Regions from separate parts of the Homo sapiens genome. Here region 1 is linked to region 2. Evidence: promoter capture Hi-C in human tissues and cell types (Jung and others, 2019). All regions are on one chromosome and are shown on one strand. The core of a region is centred on a gene start or on the middle of the fragment in contact, and the rest is flanking DNA. Distances in the headings are between cores, read along the strand shown.

What was found. Contacts are between HindIII fragments. The study calls those that stand out against the background at their distance.
Region 1: a fragment that was not itself captured here is called in contact with the fragment with the promoter of ARL11 in region 2 in 1 of the 25 tissues and cell types used here (lymphoblastoid cells).

What each region holds. Positions count from the first base shown.
Region 1 is chr13:49,250,610-49,255,852 of GRCh38, forward strand. CDADC1 (cytidine and dCMP deaminase domain containing 1) reads left to right here. Exons shown (of 10, transcript NM_030911.4): 3 at 5,230-5,243. Among named protein-coding and RNA genes, the nearest start is that of CDADC1, 5.3 kb to the left of the region's middle. The HindIII fragment of the contact is 5,612 bases long and covers 1-4,234 here.
Region 2 is chr13:49,626,815-49,632,152 of GRCh38, forward strand. ARL11 (ARF like GTPase 11) reads left to right here and starts at 1,693. Exons shown (of 2, transcript NM_138450.6): 1 at 1,693-1,801; 2 at 3,616-5,338. The coding sequence starts at 3,634. The coding sequence ends at 4,224. RefSeq lists an enhancer at 1,945-1,994. The HindIII fragment of the contact is 10,720 bases long and covers 1-5,338 here.

The sequences.
Region 1 (5,243 bases), core at 179-2,678, 380 kb before region 2:
GAGGGAAGAGACTGGAAAGGAGCTTGACAATGTAGACAGGAATCATATCATAAAAAGCATTGTATGCCTTGCAAAGGAGTTTAGATTTTATCTTATCAATATAGGAATTGCATTGAGGAATTTTAACAGGATGTGAGGATATTCGCTTCTCATAATAAAATGATATCTCTTGGTGTAGTTTCCTCCCCCAATTCCTATGTGAAGTGTTTTATAGATAGTAAAACATTATTTAAAATATTATACATCGTTATTCCATATTTCTCACCCTCATCCCCCCACTCTGGCTCTACATGTTATTAACGGCTGAGAAAGCTCTTCATTTCCTTCATTAATTTTGAAATTCCTTTATTCCTTCTACTTGTTAATAGTTTAGTATTATTTTATGAAAGTAGATTTCCAAGCTGTTAGGGATTTTATGTAGTGTTGTGTTTTTTTTGTTTTGTTTTGTTTTGTTTTCAGATAAAATTTATTTTGAAGAGCCAGATTAGAAACAAATATTTAGAGGTTTAAGACTTTTAGGCCGGGTGCAGTGGCTCATGCCTGTAATCCCAGCACTTTGGGAGGCCGAGGCAGGCAGATCACAAGGTCAAGAGATCGAGACCATCTTGGCCAACATGGTGAAACCCCGTCTCTGCCAAAAATACAAAAAGTAGCTGGGCGTGGTGGTGCGTGCCTGTAGTCCCAGCTACTTAGGAGGCTGAGGCAGGAGAAACACTTGAACCCAGGAGGCAGAGATTGCATTGAGCTGAGATCACGCCACTGCACTCCAGCCTGGCGACAGAAAAAAAAAGAAAAAAAAAAGAAAAAAAAACGTATAAAAACTGGACATATTAGAGATTGAATACAAATTTTGAAAAGGCGTTCTTTTTTTTGTAAATATCCAGATGTGATCTCGTTTTAGTTCTGTTTTTTTATATACACACCACATCCTGTGCTGAAATTAAGTTTTTTTTTTCAACAGGCACAAGTTGTATTTAATTAGTGAGAAATGACATTTATGTTTCTATTAGGAAGGAATTGATTGGCCAACTAATTGTTGAAGTTTATTTGCAAATAATACACACCCTACTGTTTCCTCATACTATATAGAGAAAGCTGTGGATCTGAGAAAACTGAGATGAAGCTTTCAGTTAGCATTTTGTTAAAAAAAATACTACCAAGGAAATTTCAAAACTATATTAGCAACAAAATTTTATACAACTTTATATCATGTTTAACAAAAGATCAAGGTTATGACTCTCATTTTCTCCCAAGCCAACAACTCTTAAGTTTTCCTGGCATCTCATTCCTTCATCTGGTGGGCACCATGGAAGTTTTCTAAATGAAAATAAATAAGTCTTTTGTTTCAGATATTTTATTTGGGATCTTATTTAGAAATCTGACTCATACGCATGTCTATTTAAGGCTTTTAAATGGAAAGTTATAACACATAGAAATGAGTACAGAAGGCATCAAAACAAAGAACATCCATGTCTTCAGAAAGCCAGGCAACCTGGAACTAGGATTGACTTGGCTATATGAAAGGTTATCACTCTTAGCTCCTGGTCCTGGAGCATGCCCAGCTCCTATTCACTGCATTGGTGTCTTTCCAGCTGTGCTCCCATACCCATGTGTCCTAGGACTACAACCCTCTCACCATGGTCTTGGGTAGGCCTTTACTTCTGTTCTTACCTACAGGGCTTGGGACTCCAAGGCACTTGGGGAGGGAGAGCCTCAGGATTACTCTGGCAGTGATCTGGGTGAAAGAGGCTTTTGCATGTTAACTTGGGAACTTGACTATCATTTTTAACATTGTTTATATGAGAAAAATGTGTTTTAAATTCCGAAAAGGGAGATTTACCAAGTATTTAGAACATGATTGTAGGTTGTCAATTACTTGTATATTTAATGTCAATAAAGCAGAAGTATATAATTTCATTAGTTCTTCTGATATCATGGCCATTGCAAAAAAGCAAGACCAATGATAGTGTGGGGGAAGAATACAGAATGAAAGGGAGCATATTGTACTCCACTTTTATAGTGTTATTTATTGTACAAACATTATCATTGAAACTGAATTTATAGCTGCAACATTTTTAAAAACTATTTTTTTCTCTTGGATTTCCTTTTTGTACTAGTTAATATCCACATAATTTTGCAGGTAGTTGCAGTCATAGCAGGAACACAATTTTGTATTTGACAGTTTTGGTACTGTTACAGGGTTGATAAGTTATTAATTTTAAATTATACAGTAAGAATACATCTAAATTTCATATGCATGTAGTATATGCTGCCATTGTGTTTATACTTGTGGAAATATTAAATTTCTCAAAATGTTGCCCAATTTTGTGCCTAATATTTCTTTACCATTTACTATAGTATATTTTTTCCAGTATTATTTGCACATGGTATTCTTAGAGTTGAGTACAAACTTTTTCCAATTAAGAGAAAAAAAGTCTTCTTTAAGCTAAAGTAATAAGATTGTTTCACTTAAATTCTTTAGTCTGCTTTTGTTGTACAGAGTAAATCACAGAAATACCAAGATGCAATTAGACATGTAATTGTATTGGAAATACTGCTTTTGATACTTTACCAACATTTGTCTTACTAAAAGTATTTTTATGAGTTACCAAAGTAATATATGTTTGTTATTTTTAAAATGGACAGAAGAAAAATTTTATCATAATTCCACCTCCTAGAGACTAATTACTTTTTAAAAATTGTTTCTCAGTCTTTTTTCTCTTACTTTCTTTACTTACATGAGATCATTTAACTCTGGATCCTACCCTTTTCACTTAACATAAGAAAATACTTATGCTGTAATGCTAGTATAAACATTGGAGCAGCACCTTAGTCTAGTAATTTAGAGTAGCCAGTGGTTTTACAGCCAGCCTGCCTGGGTTCAGACTCTGGCTCCGCCTCTTACTAGTTGTATAACTTTGGGTAACTCTACCTCTCTGTGTCAGCTTCCTCATCTGTAAAATGAAATGTTACTAGTATATACTACATGAGGCTTTTATGAGAAATGAATGAGTTAATATTTGTAAAGGTCTTAGTGCCTGGCACATGTTAGGTACTATGTGTTTGTTGTTGTTGTTGTTGTCTCCTTATTTATTTATTTGTTTATGTATTTATTTTAATAGAGATGTGGTCTTGCCATGTTGCCCAGACTGGTCGCTAACTCCTGGGCTCAAGCAGTCCACCCGCCTCAGCCTCCCGAAGTGGTAGGATTACAGGCATGAGCCACCGCACCTAGCCTCCTAACTCTTTCCATTGTGTCTTCTGGTACCTTATGCTAAAGGCCCTCACTGTACTTTTCCAGAACAGAAGCAATGTGGCATAATGGTTAAGACAATGGATCTTGGGCTGGATCTGGCATATCCACTTAATTACCTGTGTGACCATGGTTGAATTATTTAATCTCTCTCAGCCACAATTTCCTCATTTGTACAATGGGAATAATAGGAGCTACTTTATAAAGTTATAAGGATTAAATGAGATAATTTAGGGCCTGGTACATGATAAACATGCAGTAGATGTTAGGTACTGTTATTATCATCACTCATATATATAATTATTACCACTACTAGCACCCACATCCTTACCGTTTTTCCACTGATACCATCACTTCCTCTACTTCCTGTTCTGTCTGAACAGAAACCTCATTCCCAGAACATGGGTTTTCTTATAAACTTCTTTTTGATGGTTCTTTCTTTTCTAGCATCCAGCACTTGTTTCATAAGACTAGCAGGTCAACATTTACAAAGTTTCCCATTCCTACTTTAAAACTTTATCAATGTATTAACTATCCCACCCTTTTTTTTTTTTTTTTGAAACAGAGTCTTGCTGTGTTGCCCAGGCTGGAGTGCAGTGGCGTGATCTCGGCTCACTGCAACCTCCATCTCCCGGGTTCAAGCAATTCTCCTGCCTCAGCCTCCCGAGTAGCTGGGACTACAGGTGCGCACCACCATGCCCAGCTAATTTTTGTATTTTTAGTAGAGACAGGGTTTCACTATGTTGGCCAGGCTGGTCTCGAACTCTTGACCTCGTGATCTGTCCGCCTTAGCCTCCCAAAGTGCTGGGATTACAGGTGTGAGCCACTGCACCTGGCTATCTCACCTATTTTGGAGCTCACAGAATTCTGTGTCACTTTCTTTGTCTTAATCAACTTACTTCATAGTCACTTTCCTGTTTTCATAAATCATAAGCCCTGTGAGAGCTGCATCTTGAGCAACTAGGCTGTCATGTAGCAAGGGTTCAATAAGTATTTGTTGAACTAATAAATGAAGGACTTTGGTCCCTGCCTCAAAACTTTCTTTCTACTTCAAGTTTTCACTTTTTCCCTCATGGATATACCTGTATTCGTTTTCTATTGCTGCTATAACAGATGACCACAAAGTTGGTGGCTTAAAACAACACAAATTTATTATACAGTTCTGTAGGTAAGAGGTCTGAAATGAGCCTTACTGGGCTAAAATCAAAGTGTTGGCAGAGCCAAATTCCCTTCAGACACTCTACGGGAGGACCTTTCCTTGCCTTTTCTACCTGTGGAGATTGTCTGTTTTCCTTGGCTCATGGGCCCCTTCCATCTTCAAAGCCAGCAATGGCCAGTCAGGTCTTTCATGTTGCATCGCTGACTCTCCCACACCCCTCTTTTACTCATAATGACCCTTGTGATAACATCGGGCCAATCAGATAATCAAGGATAATCTCCCTATGTCAAGGTAGGTGGTTAGTGCCTCAGTTCCAGCTGCAAACTGATTCCTCCTTGCCATGTAACAAAACATAGTCACAGGCTCCAGTGACTGGGACAAGGAAATCTCTGGCGGGGCATTATCCTGCCTACCACAATCCCGATCTAATACCTTTGCTACATAGTTCCTTATCTTCTCAATTCCAGTTAATTTACCTCTATTCCACTTTAGTCATTCATGGCCACACTTTGGACTTTTCCATTACTCAAAACTGCCACAATTCTGAAACCATAAACTTCAGAATTTTATTTTCTCATTACAATTTCCAATCCTTCTATGTTTTGGGAAAGTACATAGGGGATAGATTATAAAGGTTTATTTACTAGGTAAAGTAGTATGAACTTGATCCAAACAAAGTGGGAAGTCAATGTAGAGTTTCATCATGGAAAAAAAAATGGTCAAAGCCAAGGAAGCCAGCCTTTAAATATGGGAATATTGAATTAGTCATATGTCTTATGTGCTAATCTTTTTTTTTCCTTAATCTGATTTTTATTAGAAAAATGAAGAGGG
Region 2 (5,338 bases), core at 443-2,942:
GGTGCAGTGGCTCACACCTGTAATCCCAGCTCTTTGGGAGGCCGAGGCGGGCAGATCACTCGAGATTAGAAGCTGGAGACCAGCCTGGCCAACATGGCAAAACCCTGTCTCTACTGAAAATAAAAAAATTATCCAGGCATGGTAGCACGTGCCTGTAATCCCAGGTACTCGGGAGGCTGAGGTGGGAGAATTGCTTGAACCTAGGAGGCGGAGGTTGCAGTGAGCCGAGATTGTGCCATTGCACTCCAGCCTGGGCGCCAGAGCGAGACTCCATCTCAATTAAAAAAAAAAAATAGGAGAGAGACAGAGTCTCACTCTGTCTTCTAGGCTGGAGTGCAGTGCTGTGATCTCAGCTCACTGCAGCCTCCACCTCCTGGGCTCATGCAGTTCTTGGGCCTCAATCTCCCAAGTACCTGGAACTACAGGCACACATCACCATGCCTGGTTAATTTATTATTTTTTGTAGAGACGTGGTTTCACCATATTGGCCAGGCTGGTCTTGAACTCCTGAGCTTGAGCGATCCTCCTGCCTTGGCCTCCCAAAGTGCTGGGATTACAGGCATGAGCCCCCATGCCCGGCGACTAGCCAATTTTTTAAAAATTACATTTTCTAGAGGTGTCATTTTTACTGGGAAAAACACAGTGACACCATTCAAGAAAAAATTGAACGGTAACTTTAATCACTACATTAACACAATTTTAAAGGTTGATCTGCATCATACATACCTTTTAAAGAATGTTTTCATCATATGTAGACAGCTTTTTTTGTTTTTTGTTTTTGTTTTTGTTTTGAGGCAGAGTCTCGCTCTGTCACCAAGGCTGGAGTGCAGTGGTGTGATCTGGGCTCACTGCAACCTCCGCCTCCCGGGTTCATGCCATTCTCCTGCCTCAGCCTCCCAAATAGCTGGGCCTACAGGTAGGTGCCACCACGCCCAGCTAATTTTTGTATTTTTAGTAGAGACGGGGTTTCACCATGTTAGCCAGGCTGGTCTCGAACTCCTGACCTCGTGATCCACCCACCTCAGCCCCCCAAAATGTTGGGATTACAGGCCTGAGCCACCACGCCTGGCCATAGGCAGCTTTTAAAAGAACACATGTGCAGCCTGGCCATCATGGTGAAACCTGTCTTTATGAAAAATACAAAAATCAGCTGGGCATGGTGGCACCTGCCTATAATCCCACTTGCTTAGGAGGTTGAGGAGGGAGGATCGCTTGAGCCCTGGAGGCGGAGGCTGCTGTCCAGCCTGGGCGACAGAGCAAGACTCGGTCTCAAATAGAAAACAAAACAAAACAACAACAACAACAACAACAAACCATGTGTGATTCCAAGCAAATCAGAGAATCTCTAGCCACCAGAAAAACCTTGAGGCATGTACTGAAAGGAAGAGGTCAGAATTCTCTGCGAGGAGCTCAGAGGATCCTGAGGGAAGAGAGAAGGCGGCTGCGCTTGGACACAGCTCCGAGCTCGTGCTCCCTCCTTCAGGCACCCAAGTCTGAGTTGCTAAAAAATGGAGCTGTCACTGGGCCTTGCTCTGCCAGGACCTGCAGAGCCGGGGACCTCTCTGTGGCAAGCCCAGCAAGATGACTGCTCTGAGGCGCCCTAGGGCTGAGGGAGGGGCCGTGACACCAGCCCCGCCCCCCAGCCACCTGGGAAAAGGAAGCACAAAAAGGAGAAGCAGCAACGGCTGCTCTGCTTCCTTCCCATCTCGCTCTTGGGTCATGCCTGGCCAGCAGAAAGCAGCTCCATAGGGGAGGAGAGCCACGCAGGATCTCACAGCTGCAGTCTAATAGTAACACAGAGGTAATTTTAACTTTTTACTTTTCTACCCTTGGGAGTAGGGATGAGTAGAGGCTTACCTCCTTCCAGAGGCAGCTCATATCCCCCCACCCCCATTCCCGGAAGTTGAGATGTCTCTTCTCTGTTCCACGCAGGCATCGTCTAAGTTGGGAACAGGTCTTATGTCTTAAAATTTGGGATTCTTTAAAAACATATGTGGCTGGGCACAGTGGCTCACGCCTGTAATCCCAGCACTTTGGGAGGCCGGGCAGGTGGATAATTTGAGGTCAGGAGTTCAATACCAGCCAGGCCAACATGGTGAAACCTCGTCTCTAATATAAATACAAAAAGTAGCTGGGTGGTAGTAGTAGCTGTAATCCCAGGTACTCGGGAGGCTGAGGCAGGAGAATCCCTTGAACCTAGGAGGCGGAGGTTGCAGGGAGGCAGAGGTTGTGATGAGCCAAGATTGCACCACTGCACTCCAGTCTGGGTGACACAGTGAGACCCTGTCTCAAAACAACAACAAAAATGTGTGATGGCACATGCCCATAGTCCCAGCTACTGGGGAGGCTGAGGTGGGAGGATGGCTTGAGCCTGGGAAGTCGAGGCTGCAGTGAGCTGTGATCATGCCACTGCAGTCCAGCCTGGGCGACAGAGTGAGACCCTGTCTCAAAACAAAACAAAACAAAACAAAACAAAAAAACCCAAAAACAAACAAAAAAGCACATGTGGAGTGTTGTAGAAGTCATTGACCTTGGTAAGACAGTGGAGGAAACTGCTTTGCTCTGACTCATAAATTTGCCCCCAGTAAACAGTATTTATAAATAGCCCCAGTCAGGCACTGCATGAAGACATTTCAGTCAACGACAGACCACATATACAACGGTGGTCCCATAAGATTATAACAGAGCTGAAAAATTCCTATTTTTCAGCTTAGTGTTGTGGTGCAACCACTACCTTTTCTATGTTTAGATACACGAATACTTAGCACTGTGTTACAATAGCCTACAGTACCCATTACAGGAATGCTGTACCGGTGTGTAGCCCAGGAGCAATGGGCCATACCATATAGCCTAGGTGTGGAGTAGACTAGACCATCCACGTTTGTGTAATTACAATCTATGATTTTGTAAAATGATGAAATTGCCTAATGAAGCATTTCTCAGAATGTGTCCCCGTCATTAAGTGACACCTCACTGTGTTTCCAAGACATAGTACTGGTCCTTGGGAAGCTCTAAAGAGAGGTCACCGTGAGCTGAACCATCCTTCTCACTCTGTGCATGGAACCCAGCTTAGCTTCCATTTCAGCATTTAGGCTTATAGGAGGAGAAGAGGTTAGAAGCCACAGACCAGCAAGAATTGAAGACATCGTTCTGTAATTTCTACTGAACCAGCTCTGTCTGACTGGAACTTCATTTTGCCTCTTTGCTTTAACTCCTCAGGAATGTCTTCCAGGAGGCCCCTGATCTTCTCTGCTCAGGGACCACTCTTATCTGACCCAGAGACAGGTTAGCTGATGGTGACTCACACATCCTCACTTCCTTCAAAGCCCAGGCATCTGTTTAAAATCTGACCCTGTGAAGACTTTTCCTGTTTTGGAAAAACTCTTCCGTTGTTTGCCTGCACAGATTTGTGCTCCATTTTTAATTTCAATTTTTGTAGAGAAGGCGGGTCCTTGCTTTGTTGCCTCGGCTTGTTTGAAACTCCTGGGCTCAAGTGATCCTCCTGCCTTGGCCTCCCACAGTGCTGGGATTACAGGTGTGAGCCACTGCACCAGGATGGATTTGTCTTCCTTCAGAAGACAGTAGCTGATGTGTGCCCTGGCCTTTCTCCCCTAGGATTCAGCAGTGGCCACCATGGGTTCTGTGAATTCCAGAGGTCACAAGGCGGAAGCCCAGGTGGTGATGATGGGCCTGGACTCGGCGGGCAAGACCACGCTCCTTTACAAGCTGAAGGGCCACCAGCTGGTGGAGACCCTGCCCACTGTTGGTTTCAACGTGGAGCCTCTGAAAGCTCCTGGGCACGTGTCACTGACTCTCTGGGACGTTGGGGGGCAGGCCCCGCTCAGAGCCAGCTGGAAGGACTATCTGGAAGGCACAGATATCCTCGTGTACGTGCTGGACAGCACAGATGAAGCCCGCTTACCCGAGTCGGCGGCTGAGCTCACAGAAGTCCTGAACGACCCCAACATGGCTGGCGTCCCCTTCTTGGTGCTGGCCAACAAGCAGGAGGCACCTGATGCACTTCCGCTGCTTAAGATCAGAAACAGGCTGAGTCTAGAGAGATTCCAGGACCACTGCTGGGAGCTCCGGGGCTGCAGTGCCCTCACTGGGGAGGGGCTGCCCGAGGCCCTGCAGAGCCTGTGGAGCCTCCTGAAATCTCGCAGCTGCATGTGTCTGCAGGCGAGAGCCCATGGGGCTGAGCGCGGAGACAGCAAGAGATCTTGATCCAGACAGAGCAGCATATCTTTGCTCATACAAACTAGAAGAACCAGCTGATCCTTGAGAAATTTACGCTTAGTCTATCAAACAAGAAATGCTGGCTTGGCCCGGTGGCTCATGCCTGTAATCCCAGCACTGTGGGAGACCACGGTGGGGGAATCCCTTGAGCCCAGGAGTTGGAGAGCAACATCACAACACCCCATTTCTACTAATAATCAAAAAATTGGCCGGGCATGGTGGCATGTGCCTGTAGTCCCAGCTACTTGGGAGGCTGAGGCAGGAGAATCGCTTGAGCCCAAGAGGTAGAGGTTGCAGTGAGCCAAGATCGCGCCACTGCACTCCAGTCTGGGCAACAGAGTGAGACCCTGTCTCAATAATAATAATAATAATAATGATGATACTCTAAGAAAAAAATCTCAACATACTTCATTTAATAGCTCGTTACCAAGTGTGAATGAAGCAATATGTCATAATAGAGTAGCCACTGGTTGCATAATAATAGAGACCTAAATTCTCAAATAGGGAAAGAGGTTTTAAAATCAAATTTGAGGCCAGGTGCAGTGGCTCATGGGCGGAGGAGGGCAGATTACTTGAGGCTAGGAGTTCAAGACCAGCCTGGCCAACATGGTGAAACCCCATCTCTACTGAAAATACAAAAATTAGGCATAGTGGTGCACGCCTGCAGTCCCAGCTACTCAGGAGGTTGAGGCAGAAGAATCGCTTGAACCCAGGAAGTGGAGGTTGCAGTGAGCCGAGATTGTGCTGCTGCACTCCAGCCTGGGTGAAAAAGACAGGCTGTGTCTCCAAAAAGAAAAAAAAAAGTCAAATTCAAATATCATCTGGACATGTCACAATGGATCGCGGATCCTTATGAGTGATTTTCCCCAGTGGCCCCTGGGGATGTGCCACTGTCACTCAGAAGGGCAAGCTAGGCAGGGCCCATACAACAGCAGGGGTCTGCAGGTTAGACGTTCCCTGCCCTGGGACGCTCACCCCTGGGCAAGAGGCTGGAAGTTCACACCATCCAAAATTTATCCTTGTTTTTTTTCTGATGCTAATTAGCCTCTCCCGATTTTATGACATCTTGTGTTGATCTTTTTCAAAAACTCATTTTCTTTTT